2 separate regions of the Homo sapiens genome follow, and region 1 is linked to region 2. The links are contacts of gene promoters, found by promoter capture Hi-C in human tissues and cell types (Jung and others, 2019). All regions are on one chromosome and are shown on one strand. The core of a region is centred on a gene start or on the middle of the fragment in contact, and the rest is flanking DNA. Distances in the headings are between cores, read along the strand shown. Region 1 overlaps HNF4A (hepatocyte nuclear factor 4 alpha). Region 2 holds the start of GDAP1L1 (ganglioside induced differentiation associated protein 1 like 1).

Region 1 (5,935 bases), core at 180-2,679, 140 kb before region 2:
GTTCAGGAGTTCGAGACCAGCCTGCCAAACATGGTGAGACCTCGTCTCTACTAAAAATACAAAATTAGCCGAGCGTGGTAGCACATGCCTGTAATCCCAGCTACTTGGGAGGCTGAGACAGGAAAATCACTTAAACCCATGAGGCAGAGGTTGTGGTGAGCCGGGATCGTGCCATTGCACTCCAGCCTGGTTAACAAGAGCAAAACTCTGTCTCAAAAAAAAAAAAAAAAAAAAAAAAATCAGATGGTGGCTGGGCACGGTGGCTCACGCCTGTAATCCCAGCACTTTGGGAGGTGGGTGGATCACCTGAGTTCAGGAGTTCAAGACCAGCCTGGCCAACATGGTGAAACCCTGTCTCTATTAAAAAAAAAATTAGCCAGGCGTGATGGTGCATGCCTGTAATCCCAGCTACTCGGGAGGCTGAAGCAGGAGAATCGCTTGAACCTGGGAGGTGGAGGTTCCAGTGAGTGAAGATCGTGCCACTGCACTCCAGCCTGGGCGCCAGAGCGAGACCCTGCCTTAAAAAAAACAACAAAAAAAATCAGATGCCTGGGGTCCTACCTCCAGGTGCCAGGACCAACAGTGGGCCTAGTCATCAGATTAAAAAAAAGAAAATATTTAATAAATAGAGGTGGGGCATGGTGGCTCATGCCTGTAATCCCAACACTTTGGGAGGCCAAGGCAGGTGGATCACTGGAGACTAAGAATTCAAGACCAGCCTGGCCAACATGGTGAAACCTTGTCTCTACTAAAAGTACAAAAACTAGCTGGGTGTGGTGGTGCATGCCTGTAATTTCAGCTACTTGGGAGGCTGGGGCAGGAGAATTGCTTGAACCTGGGAGGCGGAGGTTGCAGTGAGAAGAGATCAGGCCACTACACTCCAGCCTGGGCGACAGAGTGAGAGTCCATAAATTAATAAACAAACAAATTAATTAATTAAAAAATAGAGACGGGGGGAGGTGTCTTGCTATGTTGTCCAGGCTTGTCTTGAACCCCAGCCTCAAGCAAATCAGCCTCCCAAAGTGCTGGGATTAAAGGCAGGAGCCATGGAGCACCTGGCCCAAGTGTTTAATGAGCTTCTGGGCACTTCTGATACCAGGTGCCCTCAGACCGCACTTTGAAAACTCCTCAAGGAGGCCTCTCAATCACCTGATCACCAAACCCTGTGTGAGGCTCCCTACCCACCTGGACCCTCTCCTTGAATTCCTCTCCTTTCCAATTATTACCCTTCCCTAGATAGCAAGTGGTGACAGAACCAAACCCTAGCTCAGCCAAAGCCCAAATTGCCTCATCTCCCTTCAGGGAATAGGCAAAAAAAAAAAAAAAAAAAAAAAAAAAAGATCACAGAGTTCAGCTGAAACCACTTAGGAAATATCAGCATCCCCACCTCCCCACCCAAAAGGACTCCTGAGTGGCAGCCTGAGAGGTGTGTCTGCTCATCAGAATAATGTTGTCAGACTGTGTTCTTTCTGGGGGATCATCACACTCCCTTTTCTGGGAACAAATGTTGGCCACTTGGTGGGATGGGCCATCATGATCTACGTCAGACAAATTCAGTGAGTCATGACTCAGCCTATCTCTCTAGACCCATCTTTTATGCCCCCTTACTTATAGTCTCTCTGAGGGCTGTTCTCAACTATTCTATTTCTCTCCTTTCCGGCACATGATGGGGATTACATTTTCTTGCTTCCTTTGAAATGAGATGTGACCATGTTACTTGTTTCAGGTAACGAGATGTGAGCAGAAACAACCTGTGTCACACCTGGGCAGAAGCTTTAAAGGCCAGTGCTGCCCTTGTTGGGGAAGCAAGTATAGATATGAATCGTTCCACAACGCGGAGCGCCCCCTGCCGACCCATGCTGGGCGTGTACTATAGGTGAGCAATTAACTTTGCTGTTCAAACCATTGAGACTTAGGGGTTTTTTTGTGGTTGCAAGCTAACTTCACTTCACTTGACTGAACACAGTCTTTCCAAAGTTTCACTAATTTTTTAATGACCATTATGATTTTTTCATATCTGTAACATTTTTCTTACATCAACTCACTTCTTTTTACTTCAATTTATTTTAGAAAGAAATATTATTACTACCAAATGAAACAGTATCATAAGTAGAAAGCAATGAGAAAATAAACAGAATGAAAGAAATCCTGATATCAAATCCTGACTTAATACTATTTGCCTTTCAAAGCCTCTGGACCTTTGGTCTTTATTTAAAAAAAAAAAAAAAAAAAAAAAAAAGGAGCCAGGGGCCAGGCGTGATGGCTCACACCTGTAATCCCAGGAATTTGGGAGGCCGAGGTGGGAAGATCACCTGAGGTCAGGAGTTCGAGACCAGCCTGACCAATATGAGGAAACCCCATCTCTACTAAAAATACAAAAATTAGCCGGGTGTGGTGGCATGTGCCTGTAATCCCAGCTACTCAGGAGGCTGAGACAGGAGAATTGCTTGAACCTGGGAGGCGGAGGTTGCAGTGAGCCGAGATCGCTCCATTGCACTCCAGCCTGGGCAACAAGAGTGAAACTCCGTCTTAAAAAAAAAATGGGAGCCAGGTGCGGTGGCTCATGCCTGTAATCCCAGCAGTTTGGGGGGCTGAGGTGGGCAGATCACTTGAGGTCAGGAGTTCAAGACCACCCTAGCCAACATGGTGATATCCTGTCTCTACTTAAAATGCAAAAATTAGCTGGGCATGATGGCATGTGCCTGTAATATCCCAGCCTCTTGGGAGGCTGAGGCAGGAGAATCACTTGAACCCAGGAGGCGGAGGTTGCAGTGAGCTGAGATTGTACCACTGCACTCCAGCCTGGGGGAGAGAGTTGAGACTCCGTATTTAAAAAAAAAAAAAAAAAAGAGGTCCCCAAGAGTACTTCTCAATCTTTTGGATCCCCAAAGCTGTCTAAGATTGTCAGAATATTTGAAGGCAGCACAGTATTGAGGCTGAGTGTACCAATTCTGGAACTTGACATCCTGGGCTTAAATTCTGGTTCAGTCATGGACTAGCTGTGTGACCCTGGACAAGTTACTGAACTGCTCTGTGACTGTTTTCTTATTTGCAAAATAGTGACCATAATGATGTGTATGGCATTAGGTCGTGGTGGGGATTATTTGTGTTAATGTATAAAAAGGGCTTAGAAGTGTGCCTGGCACTTAGTGAGTGCTATGGAGGCATTACCTATAAAATGATGGCAGGATCCAGATCCAAATAGATTTGGTGAATTATTGTTTGTTTTTTTTGAGACAGGGTCTCTGTCACTCAGGCTGGAGTGCAGTGGCGCCATCACAGCTCACTGCAGCCTCCAAGTCTCCAGGCTCAGATGATCCTCCTACCTCAGCCTCCAGAGTAGCTGGGACTACATGTGTGGACCACCACCCCTGGCTAATTTTTCTATATTTTGTAGATATGGGATTTCACCATGTTGCCCAGGCTGGTCTGGAACTCTTGGGTTCAAGCAATCTGCCCCTTCTTAGTCTTCAAAGTGTTGGGATTACAGACGTGAGTCACCCCACCCAGCCTGGAGAAATGTTTGAACTCCATGGAGATAAGTAAAAAATCCTCTGCATTGGTTAAAAATAAATCACCTGGATGATTTATTTATTTAGTGTAGATGGGAAAAGCTACCTTAGCAGAAAGTGACATAGCAAAATTCTAGAGGTTTTACTTGGTGGCAGCTGCCCAAACCTCTAACCCAGTCGTATGTATCATTAGAGAGAATGTAGTTCCCAGGTCAGAGGAGCTAAGAGGTCCTTGGCATTCTACTCCTAAGGAGCATATATGGACAATTGTGTTTAGTTTTCATTTTAATATGAATACTTAAAATTTTCCTAGGATGGCAGAGGATGAGAAAGCTATGCCCCTTAGGCCGAGTGCAGCGGCATGGCTCATGCCTGTAATCCTGGCGCTTTGGGAGGCCAAGGCGGGCGGATCACGAGGTCAAGAGATCGAGATCATGTTGGCCAACATGGTGAAACTCCATCTCTACTAAAAATACAAAAATTAGCCTTGCGTAGTGGTACGCACCTGTAGTCCCAGCTACTTGGGAGGCTGAGGCAGGAGAATTGCTTGAACCTGGGAGGCGGAGGGTGCAGTGAGCCGAGATCTCGCCACCGCACTCTAGCCCGGCAGCAGAGCGAGAGTTCGTCTCAAAAAAAAAAAAGAAAGAAAGAAAGAAAGAAAGCTATGCCCCTTGAAGAATAATCAAAGATCCAAAAGAGTTTTGGGCTGGGTATTGGAGAAGAGGAGAGAAAGGTGGTGTAGCAGAGTGGTCAGGGCCATTGCCTTTGAAATATCAGTGGTGCCATTTACATAGCTGTTGGACCTTGCTAAAATCATAAGCTCTTCAAGCCTTATTTGCTTCATCTATAAAATAGGAATCAATGATAGGACCTTTTCATAGATTGCTTTGTGGAGTAAATGTGTTAAACCTTATAAACCTGGCAGGTAGCTGCCCAGCATATAGTTGCGTTATTTACTCAATTCAAAGTACTTTCCTGCCGGGTGCGGTGGCTCAGGCCTGTAATCCCAGCACTTTGGGAGGCTGAGGTGGGTGGATCACTTGAGGTCAGGAGTTCCAGACCAGCCTGACCAACATGGTGAAACCCTGTCTCTACTAAAAACACAAAAATTAGCCGGGCGTGGTGGCAGTCACCTGTAATCCCAGCTACTTGGGAGGCTGAGGCACAAGAATCACTTGAACCTGGGAGGCAGAGGTTGCAATGAGCTGAGATCGTGCCGCTGCACGCCATCCTGGGTGATAGATTGAGACTCAGTCTCAAAAAAAAGGCAACAAAGTACTTTCCTTTGGAAAAGAGTGCCCACTGGCTGGGTGAAGTGGCTCACGCCTGTAATCTCAGCACTTGTGGGGCTGAGGCAGGCAGATCAGTTGAAGCCAGGAGTTTGAGACCAGTTTCACGTGGCCAACATGGTGAAACCCCGTCTACTAAAAATACAAAAATAAGCCAGATGTGGTGTCATGTGCCTGTAGTCCCAGCTACTCAGGAGAGTGAGACAGGAGAATCATTTGAACCCTGGAGTTGGAGGTTGCAGTGAGCAGAGATCGTGCCACTGCACTCCAGCCTGGGTGACAGAGTAAAACTCTGTCTCAAAAAAAAAAAAAAAAAAAGCTCTCACTGATTCCTACAGCTTCAGAGAATGAACGAGGACCAAAATGTGGATGCTACAGGGAGGAAACTTGAGGCTCAAAATGGAGATCTTTCTATAAAATACAATTGTTCTACCACAGGAAAAGCTGCTTTATTAAGTAGTGAGTATTCCGTCATTGGAAGTATTAAGCCCAAGCTAAATGGTCAACTGTCAGGGAAGGATGGTGAGAGGATTCCAGTGGGTTAGAGGTCAAAGAGCGTCTACCAGGTGCAAAAGTCTTAATTAACAAAGTACTATCAAAACCAAATTCATGTTTGGGAAACTGTATATCCACATGCAAAAGAATGAAATCAGACTCTTTCCTTACACCATATACGAAAATTAACTAAAAATGAGTTTGACGGAAAAGTATAAAACCTTTGGAATAAAACATAAGGGAAAAGCTTCATGATATTAGATTTGGTGATGATTTCTTGGATATGACACCAAAAGCACAGGAAATTTTTAAAAATTAGATAAATTGGACTACATCAAAATTAGAAAAATTTGTGCACCAAAGGACACTTGACTGAGTGAAAAAGCAACTTACAGAATGGGAGAAAATATTTGCCAATCATATATCTGATAAGGGGTTAATGTCCGAAATATATAAAGAACTCTTACAACTCAATAACAACAACCAAAAACTTTAAAAATGGACAAAGAGGCCAGGTGTAGTGGCTCAAGTCTGTAATCTCACCACTTTGTGAGGCAGAGGCAGGAGGATTGCTTGAGCTCAGGAGTTTAAGACCAGCCTGGGCAACATAGTGAAACTTTGTCTCTACAGAAAAATTTA
Region 2 (5,706 bases), core at 1,709-4,208:
TGGAAGCCCAGGCAGTCTGGTCATAGAGCCTGGGCCTGGACCCACACACTGTCCTGTTGCCCTCTGGGTCTGGAATGATCTCCAAATGCCCAATGGAGCCACCATCACTCCTAGAGGTGGACTATTTTTTTCCATTCATATTTCATGTGCCATTAAAGACAGGCTATTTAGATGCTTGACAATGGGGGACTGCCCTCTTTATATAATTAAGGCCCTTCAGGATTGGAGAGAAGGAAGAAAACTCATCTGCTAAGCTCCTACTACATGCCAGGAAGTTAACATATGCCTATGTCTTCTAAAGGAATTCTGCAGGGTAGGATGTAAAATCCTCTTTTCCAGATAGGGACATTGAGGCACAGAGAGGTAAAGTGACTTGTCCAAGGTCACTCAGCCAGTAAGTAGCCAAGACGAGAATAGAACCCAGGACTATATGACTGCAGAGCCCATGCCCTTTCTGCCAAGCTACACTGCTTCTAGAATCCACCATGGGCCCCTGGGTAGGGGGAAGGCCCTGGTATGGGAGACAGAAGGATGCCCAGGTTAGCTTGGCCAGAGACTTGGTCAAAAGTGGGGCTGCAGCAGATGGTCTCATCCTGACTCAGGGGCCACCTCAGCCCTGAGCTCACGCTACATAGGAAATATTTCATGAGGCAAAGAACAGGAGGCTCCCTCATGATATGGTTGTGGGAGATGCCACCTCCCTGCCCCCTGTCTGGTCCCAGCCGCTGGGGCCCACTTCCTGAGGTTCTAGCGGGGAGGAAGTTCTAGACTCTGAAGGGCAGTCTGATTCATCTCCAAAGCCCCCATCCCCAGGCTCCTTGAATGAGGCCTGGCACGTGCAAGCATGTGCAGAATTTGTGGATGACTCCAGTATGACCTTGATTAACTCTGGCCCCTCCTTTACCTAGTGCCTTAATAACATCATAACGGCCGCTCCTGGTGGCTCACACCTGTAATACTAGCACTTTGGGAGGCCAAAGTGAGTGGATCACTTGAGATCAGGAGTTTGAGACAAGTCTGGCAAACATGGTGAAACCCTGTCTCTACCAAAAATATAAAAAAATTAGCCGGGTGTGGTGGCATATGCCTGTAGTCCCAGCTACTCAGGAGGCTGAGACAGGAGAATCACTTGAACCCAGGAGGCGGAAGTTGCAGTGAGCCAAAATCATGCCACTGCCCTCCAGCCTGGGCAACAGAGCAAGACTCTGTCTCAAAAAAAAAAAAAAATCATAACACTCATTATCAACAGAGTCTTGACCTCTCGCCAGGCACTGCCATCATCAGTACTTTTGTGCATCATATCACATTTCACTCTCATAATAGCCCTCTGAGGAAGTTACTGCATTCACCCCATTTTACAGATTATAAAGCTGAGGCTTTGGACAGGCAAAGGGACCTGTCCACAGCTCCACAGTGAGTCAGTGGGCAATATGATTGGTGGACCAGCTTCATCAGCATCACCTGGTCGCTTGTTGGAAAGGCAGCATCTTGGACCCCATTCCAGACCCACTGAATCAGGATCCTTGGGGTAGAATCCAGCAGTCTGGGTTTTAACCAGGATCATCCAGGGACTCTAATGCACGCTCAAGTTTGAGTAGTCCCAGTCTATAACACTAAGTTCCTAAGTTATATCCCTTCTTCAACAACCATATCAGCAACCCTGAGAAGGGGTTGGGATTGGAAGTGGCTATTGTTGTATCACTATCCCGCTTTCCAGATGATGAAATGAGCCTGGACCAAGACTCAAATCTAAGTCTTTGAGTTCCAAGGCCCTTTCTCTTCATGGATTCTGTTTTTCCATCTGGAAAATGAACGAATGGAACAAAAGGATCTTCCAGGAAGAAGAGGAGTCAGAAGGTCAGGCAGTGGTGCCGCTTAGGCCCCTGCAGGACCTGCCTCTGGGCCCTGGCCATGGTGCTGAATCCGTGGCCCAGAGACGGGACAACCGCCCAGGGTGGGAGATTGCGCCCCTAGAGGCGCCCCTGTCTGAGGGGTGCAGTTCACAGCCTTACCCCCAGGAAGCGGGAACCCTGAGAATCCAGTTGGATTTCCAACTGCCCCTCAGGTCCCCTAGGTCCTAGAAGCATTTTAGGGGCTGGGGCCACTCTGTGCCTTTAAGAGCAAAACAGACCTGATGGGCTGAGCCGAGCTGGTGTGAGGGGATGGTTTAACTCCTTCCTTCTCAGCTCAAGACACGGAGTGGGGGGTGGGCGACGACTGGGGACAGACCCTCCAAGCCCTAGCCAGAAGGCGGCCCGCAGACAGAGGGGCAGAGGAGCTGTGACCTGGGGGCCTGCAGTGTCCGGGACGGCAGCGTGCAGGGAGCGACTGAGAGGGGGCTACCGAGGCTGGACCCCAAGTAGCGCTTCTTCTCCCTCCCCGCAGCAGCAGCACCTCCCACCCCACCAAGCCGCCTTCCCAGCAGTGCCCATTCCCTTCCCCTCGCCTTTGTCTCTTTTCTCAGCCCCCCCAACCCGCCCCGCACCCCAACAGACCGGCTGTTTCTGGGAGGGAAAGAGGCAGAATGGATGCTCCTAAAATTGAGAACTGTGCTCCTGGGGCCCAGACAGGGCCTGTCGCTTCCCAGGTGAGCAGTCCTGGAAGGAACCCTTGCGTCCCCCGACCTCCGGGACCCCCAAACCCCAGGTTCCCCCCTCCAGTCTTTCGCCGCCCTCAGATCCCTCAAGCCCTGGGGCTCCCCTCCCCAAGCTTCCTGGCCACCGGCGCAGGCGGCTCCCGGCCCGGCTCTACCTTCTGCGAGCTGAAGGACTGGGTCCAGTGGTACAGAACCAGGCTCTCCCTGGGCCAATGGGCGGGGCTGGCCGCCTCGGGAGCGTCGGGGGCCTCCGCTGGCTTGGCCGCATCGCTCTCCAGCGCGGAGATGGGCCACCAGCTGCAGTTGGTGGGGGTCAGATTGTTGGGGGTCGCCATGACAGCCCGGAATCAGAGGCAGGAAAGAAGGAGGCTCCGGCGCGGCGGCTCTCTCTCGCCCAGCATCACATGGCCTCGCCGAGCCTGCCCCTCTCCTCCCTCCCTCCCCGCTCCGTGAATGTCATTACTCACCGGGCAGTTGGGGGAGGGGGCGAGGGGATCCCGGGAGCTCCTTTCTCCTCCTCCCCCTGGCCCGCGCCAGAAAAGCCGCCAGCCCTCAGTGTCAGGCTCCCTGCAAGGGTGGAAGGAGCCCGAGGAAGTGGGTCGTGCCCCCCAAACAGCTCAGTGTATTGGGCCAGGCACCTGCCAAAGATTCCACCCTCATCAACGCTTTCCTGCCTCTCAGTCTTCTAAGGGGCAAATACTTCTTAACTGGGATTCTAGAGAGCTATTCCTTTAGAAATTAGTGTCTGGAAATTACTTGTCTCGCTTTGAAGCTGTTATCTTCTAACTTTTCCCCTGAAGGGCCTCGAAGGGCAGAGGGAACAGACTATGATTTATTTAACAGACACTTACATAGCACTTACTGTATGCCCAGGCACTGTTCTAAGAGCTTTACAACTATCAGCCCATTTAGCTCTCACAATAGTCCTATTAGCTTCATTTTACAGAGAAGGAAACTGAGGCACAGAGAGGCTAAGTGACCTTGCCCAAGGTCATCGAGCTGGTAGGTGGTGGAGCTGATGTGAACACAGGCAGTCTGGCTCCAGAGTCTGTGCTCCTAGCCATAAGGTCATGATAATATGGTAAGAATATAAACAATGGCACAGCAACCATTTATCAACCTGAGCCCCTTACATGCATCATCTCATTTCATCTGCACAATAATCATTTTTCACGGATGAGGAAGGCGAGGCTCAGAAATGTCAAGTCATTTGTTCAAGGTTGCATCTTCTACCAAGGCACAACCAGATGAGCCCAAAGAAAGCCCATAATGCCTTTGCTGTCACAAAGTCTGCCCTAAACATACATAAGAACTTCAGCAAAGTTCCTTAATACACCTATACTTCCGTTACTATAAATACTGTGTTTTAATTTATTTACCATTGAGGAAATACAGAAGCAGACCCTGGGACAACAGATGCAAATAGATGTACTAGGAAGATAAGCTCAGTCCTCCCTCTCACCCCCGACCGCCCACCCCCATCCATCATGCTGCTAAGGACTCCTGGGTACCTCATCCCCCAGGCTGTAAGCCTGGCTCATAAGGAACCGGTGAACCTCCTTCTACCAGATAACAGATGCTCTGTGGTCCCTGGGTTTCCCTTTTTGCCTTGGCTGCCACAAAGCCTGTAGCTACATTTTCTATCAAGTCTCAGTTGCTACATTAGCCTCCCTGGTTCAGCATACTTTTTTTGTCACTCTTGTGAAATTTTTGATGTTGTTCACTGTTCAATTTTGCAAAAAAGGGCATGGTATGTCTTGAAGGAAAATTCAATCCTGTATGCTCCCAGGGTCACAATCTGGTAGGTTTAACAAGTGCCATAGGTGATTCTCATGAGATGCAAGGTTGGTGATACTGTTTGCATCTGTGTCTCCACCAAATTTCATGTTGAAATGTAGTCCCCAGTGCTGGAGGTGGGGCCTGGTAGGAGGTGATTGGATCATGGGGGTGGACCCCTCTTGGCTTGGTGCTGTCCTTGCAATAGTCAGTGAGTTCTTGTGAGATCTGGTTGTTTAAAAGTATGTGGTCAGGAACAGATTAAGAAAGCAAAAATAAATAAATAAATAAATAAGTATGTGGCACATCTTCCCCTACTCTGTCTTGCTTCCTTTCTCACCATGTGATATGCCAGCTTCCCCTTTGCCTTCCACCGTGATTGGAAGCTTTCTGAGGCCTCACCAGAAGCCAAGCAGGTGCCAGTGCCATGCTTCCTGTACAGCCTGCAGAACCACGAGCCAATTAAACCTCTTTTCTTTATAAATTACCCAGTTAAACCTCTTTTCTTTATAAATTACCCAGTCTCGGGTATTTCTTTATCACAATGTGAGAATGGTCTAACACAGCTGGGAAACACTGAGCTAGAGGAAAGATCCCTGGATTGGAGGCAGTAAGATAGGGCTCCTGGCTGTGTGACTTCTCACAGGTCACTTACCCTCCCTGAGATTCGGCTCATCATCTGTGAAATAGAGATAATGATAACTGCATGAGGCAGAGATGGATCACTGTCACCCAGAGATCTGTGTTCTCAGTCCATAGGACACAGTAGTTGCTGGAAAGTGGCTGCCACTCACCAGGGACTGCTCCACTTTGCATTGAGGTGAGGTGACAACATGACTGACTTGTGGCCAATGAATGTGGGCAGAAGTGAGGAATGCTGCTGCCCATAAAATCCCCATGATTCTTCACTCTCTCTTCCCATCCGCCTATTGAATATCAATGCCTGGAGGAACTTGAAAGCCCCAAGGGAAGGTTGATAAAACTCCTTGTTCCTCCCCACACCTGCTGCCAGCTGGACTTTATATGAGTGAAAAATAAACTTCTATTGTGTGAAGCCACTGAGGTTTGTATCTGTTATAGCAGCAAGTGCTATGTTACTGAACATACTGCCTCCGGGAGTGTGGCAAAAATTAAATGCGCTAATGCAGAAGTTGCAAACTGACAATGTGTTGGCTTGGACCCACCCTGCAGATATGTTCTGTTATGCCTGACCCAGTGTTATTTTATTGACAAATTTTAAAATGAGCAATTTCACACAAATATCTGGATTTCCAGGTTCAAGAAAACCCAGAATAGCTGGCACCCGGGTTTGCATGCCAGCAGTTGGACCAGGA

Evidence for each region. Contacts are between HindIII fragments. The study calls those that stand out against the background at their distance.
Region 1: a contact is called between a fragment that was not itself captured here and the fragment with the promoter of GDAP1L1 in region 2, in 1 of the 25 tissues and cell types used here (lymphoblastoid cells).

The regions. Positions count from the first base shown.
Region 1 is chr20:44,380,464-44,386,398 of GRCh38, reverse strand. The region is part of intron 1 of HNF4A (hepatocyte nuclear factor 4 alpha); the gene reads right to left. HNF4A-AS1 (HNF4A antisense RNA 1) reads left to right here. Exons shown (of 3, transcript NR_172878.1): 2 at 1,727-1,876. Among named protein-coding and RNA genes, the nearest start is that of HNF4A-AS1, 12 kb to the left of the region's middle. The HindIII fragment of the contact is 4,459 bases long and covers 1-3,658 here.
Region 2 is chr20:44,244,560-44,250,265 of GRCh38, reverse strand. GDAP1L1 (ganglioside induced differentiation associated protein 1 like 1) reads right to left here and starts at 2,958. Exons shown (of 6, transcript NM_024034.6): 1 at 2,752-2,958. The coding sequence starts at 2,931. RefSeq lists a silencer at 1,803-2,097 and an enhancer at 2,458-3,256. The HindIII fragment of the contact is 5,443 bases long and covers 600-5,706 here.